Regions from separate parts of the Homo sapiens genome. Here region 1 is linked to region 2. Evidence: promoter capture Hi-C in 16 types of primary human blood cells and fetal thymus (Javierre and others, 2016). All regions are on one chromosome and are shown on one strand. The core of a region is centred on a gene start or on the middle of the fragment in contact, and the rest is flanking DNA. Distances in the headings are between cores, read along the strand shown.

The links. Contacts are between HindIII fragments. The CHiCAGO score rates a contact against its expected background, and 5 or more counts as called.
Region 1: a contact is called between a fragment that was not itself captured here and the fragment with the promoter of NUP42 in region 2, in 1 of 17 cell types (erythroblasts). The highest score is 5.2, in erythroblasts.

Annotation. Positions count from the first base shown.
Region 1 is chr7:23,505,198-23,509,898 of GRCh38, forward strand. TRA2A (transformer 2 alpha homolog) reads right to left here. Exons shown (of 8, transcript NM_013293.5): 5 at 2,223-2,338; 6 at 941-1,069; 7 at 549-616; 8 at 1-372. The coding sequence ends at 362. Among named protein-coding and RNA genes, the nearest start is that of TRA2A, 24 kb to the right of the region's middle. The HindIII fragment of the contact is 2,798 bases long and covers 28-2,825 here.
Region 2 is chr7:23,180,092-23,184,854 of GRCh38, forward strand. NUP42 (nucleoporin 42) reads left to right here and starts at 1,957. Exons shown (of 7, transcript NM_007342.3): 1 at 1,957-2,115. The coding sequence starts at 1,995. RefSeq lists enhancers at 1,552-2,151, 2,252-2,321. The HindIII fragment of the contact is 4,881 bases long and covers 1-3,017 here.

The sequences.
Region 1 (4,701 bases), core at 177-2,676, 320 kb after region 2:
CTCTAATACAGTATCTAACACAAAAGAAGCTTTAAAAAGACAGTTTCTTTCCTTATTTGATTAGCTAGAAGTTTATCTAGGTAAAAGCAAAAAAAAAAATTTACAAAGCATAACATAACATTGGGGTTCTTTTTATACTCAAGATGTTTAACTGTTCAAAATGACAACAATTACATCTTTTAAGAGTATAATAAAATGGGTGGAAAACAGCAACACAACTGACAAAAGTGTAGATGCTAAATAAACCAAAGTTTTTTTCTTAAGGAGTAGGAAGAATCCACAGCTTGGGGAAATCTCAGAATTAAAAAAAAAAAAAAAAAAAAGAGGAAAAAAAATGTCCTTAATTGCAACCATTCCGTTATCAATAGCGTCCTAAAAGAGAAAAAGCAAAAAAAAAAAAAAAAAAAAAAAGTTAACAATTATAGTTTAATTTGCCTCATATTTTTCCAACTATTAACTGCCACCTTCCACCTTATACTCTAATATTCTAAAGTAAGCCATTAATTAGAAATGAGGTTTTTTATGCTACAAAAGTAAAGTTCACATACTTGGGCTGTAGGAACGAGATCTTGATCGTGATCTATATCGACTATAATAAGGAGAAGGTGATCGTCTTCTGTAAGAAATGAAAGATTACTTAGCATACTATATAATCACTCCACTGAGGCAGATGAAAATAAAAATTCCTCATCATTCAAAATAATAATGTACCTAAGGTGATAACTACTTAATATTAAGTTCTCTTTCTGCCAATGAGACCAGAAAAGTATATAGCACAACAAAATACTGACATATACAGACTGCTAACTTCTGCTCCCAAAGGCGTCATATATGATCTATTTTAAAAATCAAGTTTTTATTCATATGTATCCAACATAAAAGTGCCAAGTAACACTACTATCATCTAATTTAGAACAGAAAGCTCAAGTTAAAACATTACCTGTATCGGTAATCATAGTCTTCATATCTGTCATACCCACGATCATATCCTCTATCATAGTAAGAATCTCGACGTCTGCCACCACCTCCACCTCCACCGCCGCCGCCTCCTCCACCACCCCCACCACTACTGCAGAAAAATGTAAAAATTCTCCATTAGTGTGAATGACTATTTTCCAGGACACTTTAATACAAATTGAATGGCTTAAAAAAGAGAAAAGTGAGGAAGAACATCCCTTTCATGAGAAATTGCCTCCGTATCTCATTTTACTGACTCCCATGGTATTCTGGTTTGCCTTATTCCCTACATACATAATCAAGAAGGGCTTCACAAAACTCTCAAAACTATTAACTGCTTTTCTACTAATGCACTGCCCAAATTAAAATCTTTTCAACAAATTGAAACGATGAAGCACTGTGTTGAGCAGCAGTATAAAAATGCTAAGATGCATTCCTACTGCTAAATGAGACTGGTAAATAAATAAATAAATGAATAAAAGGTGTATCCCTGTGACTAAAAGGCAATAAACACCAAGAATTTTTAAGTAACTCTGGACACCAAAGAGAATACCAAGGAATGACTATATTCCTTCTTTTATTCCCAAGAAATACCTCTGTGAATACTGCCTTTGGTTGTATATTTTATTTTTATTTTTTGAGACGGAGTCTTGCTCTGTCGCCCAGGCTGGAGTGCAGTGGTGCGATCTCGGCTCACTGCAAGCCCTGCCTCCGGGGTTCATGCCATTCTCCTGCCTCAGCCTCCTGAGTAGCTGGGACTACAGGTGCCTGCCACCATGCCCAGCCAATTTTTTGTATTTTTAGTAGAGACGGGGTTTCACCGTGGTCCCGATCTCGTGATCTCGTGATCCACCCGCCTCGGCCTCCCAAAGTGCTGGGATTACAGGTGTAAGCCACTGCGCCCGGCAAATGAACATCGTGAGCCAGCCAGGAGGGTTGTATATTTAAAAACATTATCAAAACCCCTACTTATGTTTTTTTTCTTTTTTGAGAAAGAGTCTCACTCTGTTGCCCAGGCTCACTGCAACCTCTGCCTCCCAAGTTCAAGTGATTCCTGTGCCTCAGCTCCCGAGCAGCTGGGATTACAGGCATGTGCCACCACACCTGGCTGATTTTTTATTTTTTTTTAGTAGAAGCAGGGTTTTGCCATGTTGCCCCTTGCCAGAATCAATTCTAATTATAGGAAAAAAGTTTCTGAGTAATCAAAATTTTGCACATATTTCTGGTGGATTTCATAGTTTAGCTTAGGAAACTTGAACTCTTACTGAGTTGGTCTGCCCATGTAGATGCCTGGTGTTGGTGTGTGCGCTCTCTTGGTTATAGAATAATCCACCCGAATTCTTCTACCATCCAGCTCCATTCCATTTGCCCTTTCCATAGCCTATAAAGAACAGGCACAAAAAGTCACGTATAATTCACCAGTCTTGAAGTAATCATTACTTAAAATTAAGCACAAAGTATATGTAATCCAAATAAACTCCTGATTTTGAAAATGACAGCAATGTAGCTTGTACAGGGCATTGTATAGACAATTCTAGACCTCAACAATGTCCAGAACACATTTAAATTTACTCAGCAGAAAGAGTAGTTAATAAACTTTCCCAAATAATTTTCCAGTTCTGGTTCAATTCCCATTCCCCACTCCATGAGATCAACAAAGAGTAGTTAACAAACTTTCCTAAATAATTTTCCAGTTCTGGTTCAATTCCCATTCCCCACTCCATGAGATCAACAGGGGAGCGGAGACTGAAGTCTTTTCAAGCTAAATTTTTTGTAGGTTGCCCAGGTAGACTGCCATTTCATACTTTCTAGTCTCCAGCGATTTCACTTACAAAGACTGACTTCAGAACATTAAAAAGGGTTTGCTAAGCTTTATACATGTTCTTTTTATAACCTGCCCCCAATCTTATTCTTTAGTTTGCAGTCTAGTACACTGATTAAGACTCAGTGAGCAGCCAAGAAGAAATGATATAAACAGACAAGAACAAATTTATCGTAATGCCTTTCAACCTTTTATTGAGACTGAACTAATAAAAGTATAATAAACTAATAAAAACTACACAATTTTTATGTATCCACAAATATTTCTCCGTAAGAGTGTCCCATAAACTAAAGGTCATTAAAAAAAAAAAAAAAAAAAAAAGGAGGTCTCACTCCATTGCCCAGGCTGGCAGTGGATCATAGTTCACTGTGGCCTCAAACTTCTTGGCTTATGCAATCCTCCAGCCTTAGTCTCCTAAGTAGCTAGGACCACAGGTTTGTGCCACCATGCTCGGCTAATTAAAACAAAAATTCTTGGTAGAGAAGGGGTCTAAACAGTATTCCATTCAATGGAATGCATTTTATTATTTATTTATGAGACCAAGTTTCGCTCTTGTTGCACAGGCTGGAGTGCAATGGCGTGACCTCGGTTCACTGCAGCCTCTGCCTCCCAGGTTCAAGTGATTCTCCTGCCTCAGCCTCCCAAGTAGCTGGGACTACAGGCATGCGCCACCATGCCCAGCTAATTTTTTGTATTTTTAGTAGAGATGGGGTTTCACCATGTTGGCCAGGATGGTCTCGATCTCTTGACCTTGTGATCCTCCTGCCTTGGCCTCCCAAAGTGCTGGGATTACAGGCGTAAGCCACCACGCCTGGCCTGCATGCATTTATTTTTGTAGAGACAAGATCTGTTGCCCAGGCTGGTCTCTTAACTCGTGGCCTCAAGTGGCCTTCCCACCTCAGCCTCCCAAATAGCATGAGCCGCCTTGCACAGCCTAATTCTTGAAGATAAGAGTTGTCTCTTTGGTCTCTTTGAAAAGAACTCTGAGAGTATTATTTGTTTCTGGGACAATTTTTTTTTCCTATTCTCTCACACACATATATATATTTGTAGAGACCAAGTCTCCCTATGTTTCCCCAGGCTGGTCTCAAACTCCTGGGCTCAAGTAAATCCTCTTGCCAAAGTGCTGGGATTAGAGGCATGAGCCACCACACCCGGTCCAATTTTTAAAAAGAACTTTACATCACATAAATGTCTGCAAAAGCAAAGCTGCAACAAATTTAACACATCTTCCATTTGAAGTTCCAAAAATCAAAATTCTCTAAGTTGATCTCCCTGCACCCCATCCTAAGCACCCCCCAAAAAAACACACACAAAATCTCTAAGTACTTCTTACTAAAACAGGGTGAGGAGCTTATATTATTATCTTCACCATATGCACACTAATAACTTTGAAACTTCAGTGAAATTTTCAGAATCAGGGAGAAGTTAGTCAAAAAGGAATACAAATTTTAAAAAGATTTTAAAAATCACTTTAGGCTGGGCGCGATGGCTCACACCTGTACTCCCAGCACTTTGGGAGGCCAAGATGGGGGGATCATGAGGTATCAAGAGATCAAGACCATCCTGGCCAACATGGTGAAACCCCATCTCTACTAAAAATACAAAAATTAGCTGGGTGTGGTGGCATGCACCTATAGTCCTAGCTACTCGGGAGGCAGAGGCAGAATTGCTTGAACCCGGGAGGCAGAGGTTGCAGTGAGCCGAGATTGTGCCACTGCCCTCCAGCCTGGCAACAGAGCAAGACTCCGTCTCAAAAAAAAAAAATCACTTTAGCCAAGTGAAGTGGCTCATGCCTGTAATCCTGGCACTTTGGGGAGGCCAAATCACTTGAGGTCCAGAGTTTGAGGCTAGCCTGGGCAATGGGGCAAAACCCCGTCTCTACCAAAAAATACAAAAATTAGCCGGGCATGGTGGTGCGC
Region 2 (4,763 bases), core at 707-3,206:
AACAGGACAAATTGAAATTGTGCACAACCTGCAATGTGAAAACCGCAGCATCACTTCTGTGATAATCCTGACAAAGATGCATAATCTGAATCTAATCAAGAGAAAACATCAAACAGACCTGCACTAAGGAACCTCTACAGTATAAGCAGCCTGTAGTCTTTAATAGTGTCAAGGTCATGAAAAGGAAAAACAAAAAATCTTCCAAATTGAAGGAGACACAAGAAATATGACTAAGCAACAATGATTCCGAACTGAACCCTTTTCCTCTAAAGGACAATATTGGGACATTTGGCAAAACATAAATGGAGTCTAAGGATTAGAGAGTAGTAGTGCATCAGTATCAATGTCCTAATTTTGTTGGCTGTGTTGTGGTTATGTAGAATGCCCTGGTTTGTTTGTAGAAAATATACAATAAGTATTTGGATCATGGGGCATTAGGTCTGCAACATAGTCTCAAATGGTTCAGGAAAAAAGTTCTTTGTACTGTTATTTGTAACTTTTCCATAAATTTGTTTCAAAATAAATGAATTGCATTGATTAAAGAAAATAAAAAACTAGTTTGGACAAGTAGTTCCCGTCCTGTAGATTCTGCTGTCTTCAAAATCCAAACAAATTACATGAGCAAGAATGATGGCTCACTCCCAGCTCAATAATCCTAAAACCACCAGCACAAACCTGTAATCCAACAAAGTCAGATCTATTGACTTATTGCAATCAAGAAGACTGCACACCAGAGGAGCTGTGGTGTGTCTCACCGTACAAAATAAAAGGTAGTTATTGTATGTTTTGGCGGGGAGAGTGAAGTTTAGGTGAAATTTAAATGAAATCTCAAAGCATAGCTGTGTGTAAAGGCATTAACATCAGGTCTGGACGAGAATTGAATGTAGGGCATGTTTCCTTGGAAACTGCAAAGTTAAGAAAATACAGAATGTTTTCAGAACCGTTTATCTGAAGCTCTACACCTGGATAGAAATTGAGGCTGCTTCTCTGCGTCAAAGAGACTTAGATCCTCCAGGCAAGGATGGGACTTTTCACTCGTTCTGATATAATTTCAAATAGCAACGTTTATGTGGACTTGAAAGAACAAGGTTTCGGCCAGACGCGGTGGCTCACACCTGTAATCGCAGCACTTTGGGAGGCGGACGCGGGCGGATCACGAGGTCAGAAAATAGAGACCATCCTGGCTAACACGGTGAAACCGTGTCTACTAAAAATACAAAAAAATTAGCCGGGCGTGGTGGCGGGCACCTGTAGTCCCAGCTACTCGGGAGGCTGAGGCACGAGAACGGCATGAACCTTGGAGGCAGAGCTTGCCTCCAAGCTCTGCCACTGTACTCCAGCCTGGGCGACAGAGCGAGACTCCGTCTCAAAAAAAAAAAAAAAAAAGAAGAAATAACAAGGTTTCTCAGTGTGTAGTAAGAATGTACTTAAGTGGTAATACTTTTCCGTTGCAGCATGTCCTAAAAGAAACATTGTTTCCTCTTAACGTCGTCTGGCTTTATTTGACTCTGTTATCCATCCAGATGAAAGGCTAGGCAGTTTGTTACTTTCTCAGCCCAAGCTAAGTTTTACCGTCTCAGCAAGAACGACTCAGTCTCTCAAATCATAGCTAATTCTCCTCTGAGGGCCTTGCTGAAGTTCTGCGTTTGCTTGCTCCGCTTTCCTCTCATTTTGGACCTCCAGCCTTCCTGTAGTCCGAGGCCCTGCACCGGGGTCAAACGCGCCTCCGGTCTTCACGTAACCGTTCAAGCATCCCTCCTTCCCAGGACACACTCAAAGCGTCAGAGCGGTCCGCTCTTCTCAAGTCCTATTGGCTCAAGTCCATGCGTCTCATGGCACTGCCGGGTGAGAGGCGGAAAAAGGCCTTCCCAGGCGCGAGAAGATGACGTCACAGTAGCCCGGCCGGGCGCCGAGGTTGCCTTAGGGCTCTCTGCCCAGTAACAGGCATCGAACGGTGCAGACTGAAGACGCCCTCCGTCAGCGACGCCGTCGCAATGGCCATTTGTCAATTCTTCCTTCAAGGCCGGTGCCGCTTTGGAGATCGGTGCTGGAACGAACATCCCGGTGCTAGGGGTGCAGGAGGAGGACGGCAGCAACCGCAGCAGCAGCCTTCAGGTGACTCTCCTCTGAATCCTCCGCGGTAACCGAGCCGGGAAGGGTCCGCCGGCGGGGACCGGGCGTCCCGCGTGTTTCCCGCTGCTGGTGACCCCAACGTGCCCGCGTCGCGGCCTTGCCGGCCCTACTGGGCCCTGCACAACGTTTTTAAACCGAGGGTTTTATCTACATATTATTCATGTGGTCCGTTTTTATTGAGCTTCTGAGGACCTGGGTTTGGGCCTGGATGCTTGTGCGAAACTGAGTTTTTAAATCGGAAGTACCTATCGAAACTACCTTGTAGGTAAATGCCGGAATTGAATATAATTTTTACTAAGTTGTTTTTTCGAGGGTGAGGCTAGCAGCTTGGGTCAGAATCAGGACTTCATTTTGGAGAAGTCGTGGACTTCTTTGAAAAAATCTAATAAAACCGGCCGGGCGGTGGCTCACGCCTGTAATCCCAGCACTTTGGGAGGCCGAGGCGGGCGGATCACGAGGTCAGGAGTTTGAGACCAGCCTGACCAACATAGTGAAACACCGTCTTTACTAAAAATACCAAAAAAAAAAAAAAAAAAAAAAATAGCCGGGCGTGGTGGCGCGCGCCTGTAATCCCAGCTACTCATGAGGCTGAGACAGGAGAATCGCTTGAACCCGGGAGGTGGAGGTTGCAGTGGGCCGAGATCGTGCCACTGCACTCCAGCCTGGGCGACAGAGCGAGACTATCAAAAAAAAAAAAAGAAAGAAAGAAAAGAAAAAAAGAAAATCTAATAAAACCTATAGAGCCATACCGCAAAAATGCACCTGCTCATAAATTTGGGGTGAAATTGGGAATGTGGGACGCCCAGTTAAGGGCTATCCGGGAGGTGAGGAAAGGAGATGCGGGGGCCACGTTGATCTAGTCCCTGGGCCTAGATCATTGTCAAAGCTTTTTATCTTCAAGGAAAGGAGAGATTAGACATGAAACCTTAGAACAACACAAGATTTTTAAAGATCGGGTTAATAATTCGGTGCTGTCTCCCTTCCTTCCCCTCCTTTAGGGCTATTCATCTGACCTTTATTTTTTTATTTTATTTTGAGACGGAGTCTTGCTCTCTCAGTCAGGCGGCTCACTGCGACCTCCGCCTCCCAGGCTCAAGCGATTCTTATGCCTCAGTCTCCCGAGTAGCTGGGATTACGGGTGCCCGCCACCATGCCCTTGATAATTTTTGTATTTTTAGTAGAGACAGGGTTTTGCCATTTTGGCCATACCGGTCTCGAACTCGTGACCTAAGGTGATACTCCCGCTTCCGTCTTTCAAAGTGCTGGGATTACAGGCGTGAGCGACCGCGGCGGGCCTCATCTAACCTTTAAACCTTGTATTGCGTGATGGTTTCACGTCTGATCCCACTTCAGGGAAGACAGTCCTTTTATTTCCTCCACAATTAATCTAGTGAAATATTTCAGACCGAAAATTAGGACTCATGTCTGATGAATGTGAGTGTAAACAAAATTTGGCAGACAAATTGTATTTAGCTCCCAGAAACAAATGAATGTTTCTGGAATTATAAGTATGAAGACCAAAAGCAATGTAAAAAAAAAAAAAAAAAAAAAAAAGGAGGAAGTGAGTTTCTTCAGTTGTATCATCCCCCAGTGAATTTGGAACTTTAGAAGAAGAAGATACCATTAACTTCTACTTGAGGGATCTGGTCTAGCAATCTCCACTTTTTTTTTTTTTTTTTTTAGGGTAGTTTAGAGTTGCAGGATGAACTTTCACAACTGGGCATGTGTGTCATTCTAACTTTTAATATAATTAATGGCTTATCTCTTTATTCAGTCAGAAACAAGATGAATTACCTTAATCTTGGCCCCAACTAGGAAGTGATGAGTAAATGAGATTGCTAAAATGATTTTAAAAAACAAAACAAAACCAATATATAAAGAGAGGAGAGAATCTTTTTGGCTCATTTTGATATTTATGAAATATTGGAAAGCTGGTAGAGGAACTACATGCATTCTGTACACATGTAAATACCATGTATAATCTCTCTGTGAAAATAGGTGTGTAGGTGTTTGCCCAGAGAAAAGACTGCGTCAAATAGACTTAAGCATCTGTACAAAAACAGAGGGTAGAATGTAATCTTTCATATTCGAGAAACTTTAATTCAATGTCCATTTTTCAGCCTTTACTACAGTATAGGGCCTGGTGGGGGAGCAAAGAATGATAAAAACCCAAGTTTTTATCCTGAAGGAGTTTATGATTTATGATGCATGCCTTCTGTCAACTTTTAACTATCAAGCAGTTGTTCATTTAATAAGCTTTGTCAGCTGAATTTAGTAATATATCACTATTTTTCTATATTATTTTCTTCTCAATCTCAAACAAAAATGCAATTGGCCACTATGTGATTTGTTGATATTACAACCTAACTACTGTATATAAATAAAAAATGAAGAGATTGTCATTTAAAATGAGTTTAAATGTAGTGCTTGTTGAATCTTTCTATATTGTCTAGACATACTAAGATATAATGAAGATTTTTGAGATTTTAAAGAACAGTTGCTGGGCACAGTAGCTCATGCCTATAATTCCAGCACTTTGGGAGGCTGAGGCAGGTGGATCTCTTGAGCCCAGGAGTTTGAGACCAACCCCGGGCAATATGGCAAGACCTTATCTCTACAAAAAGTACAAA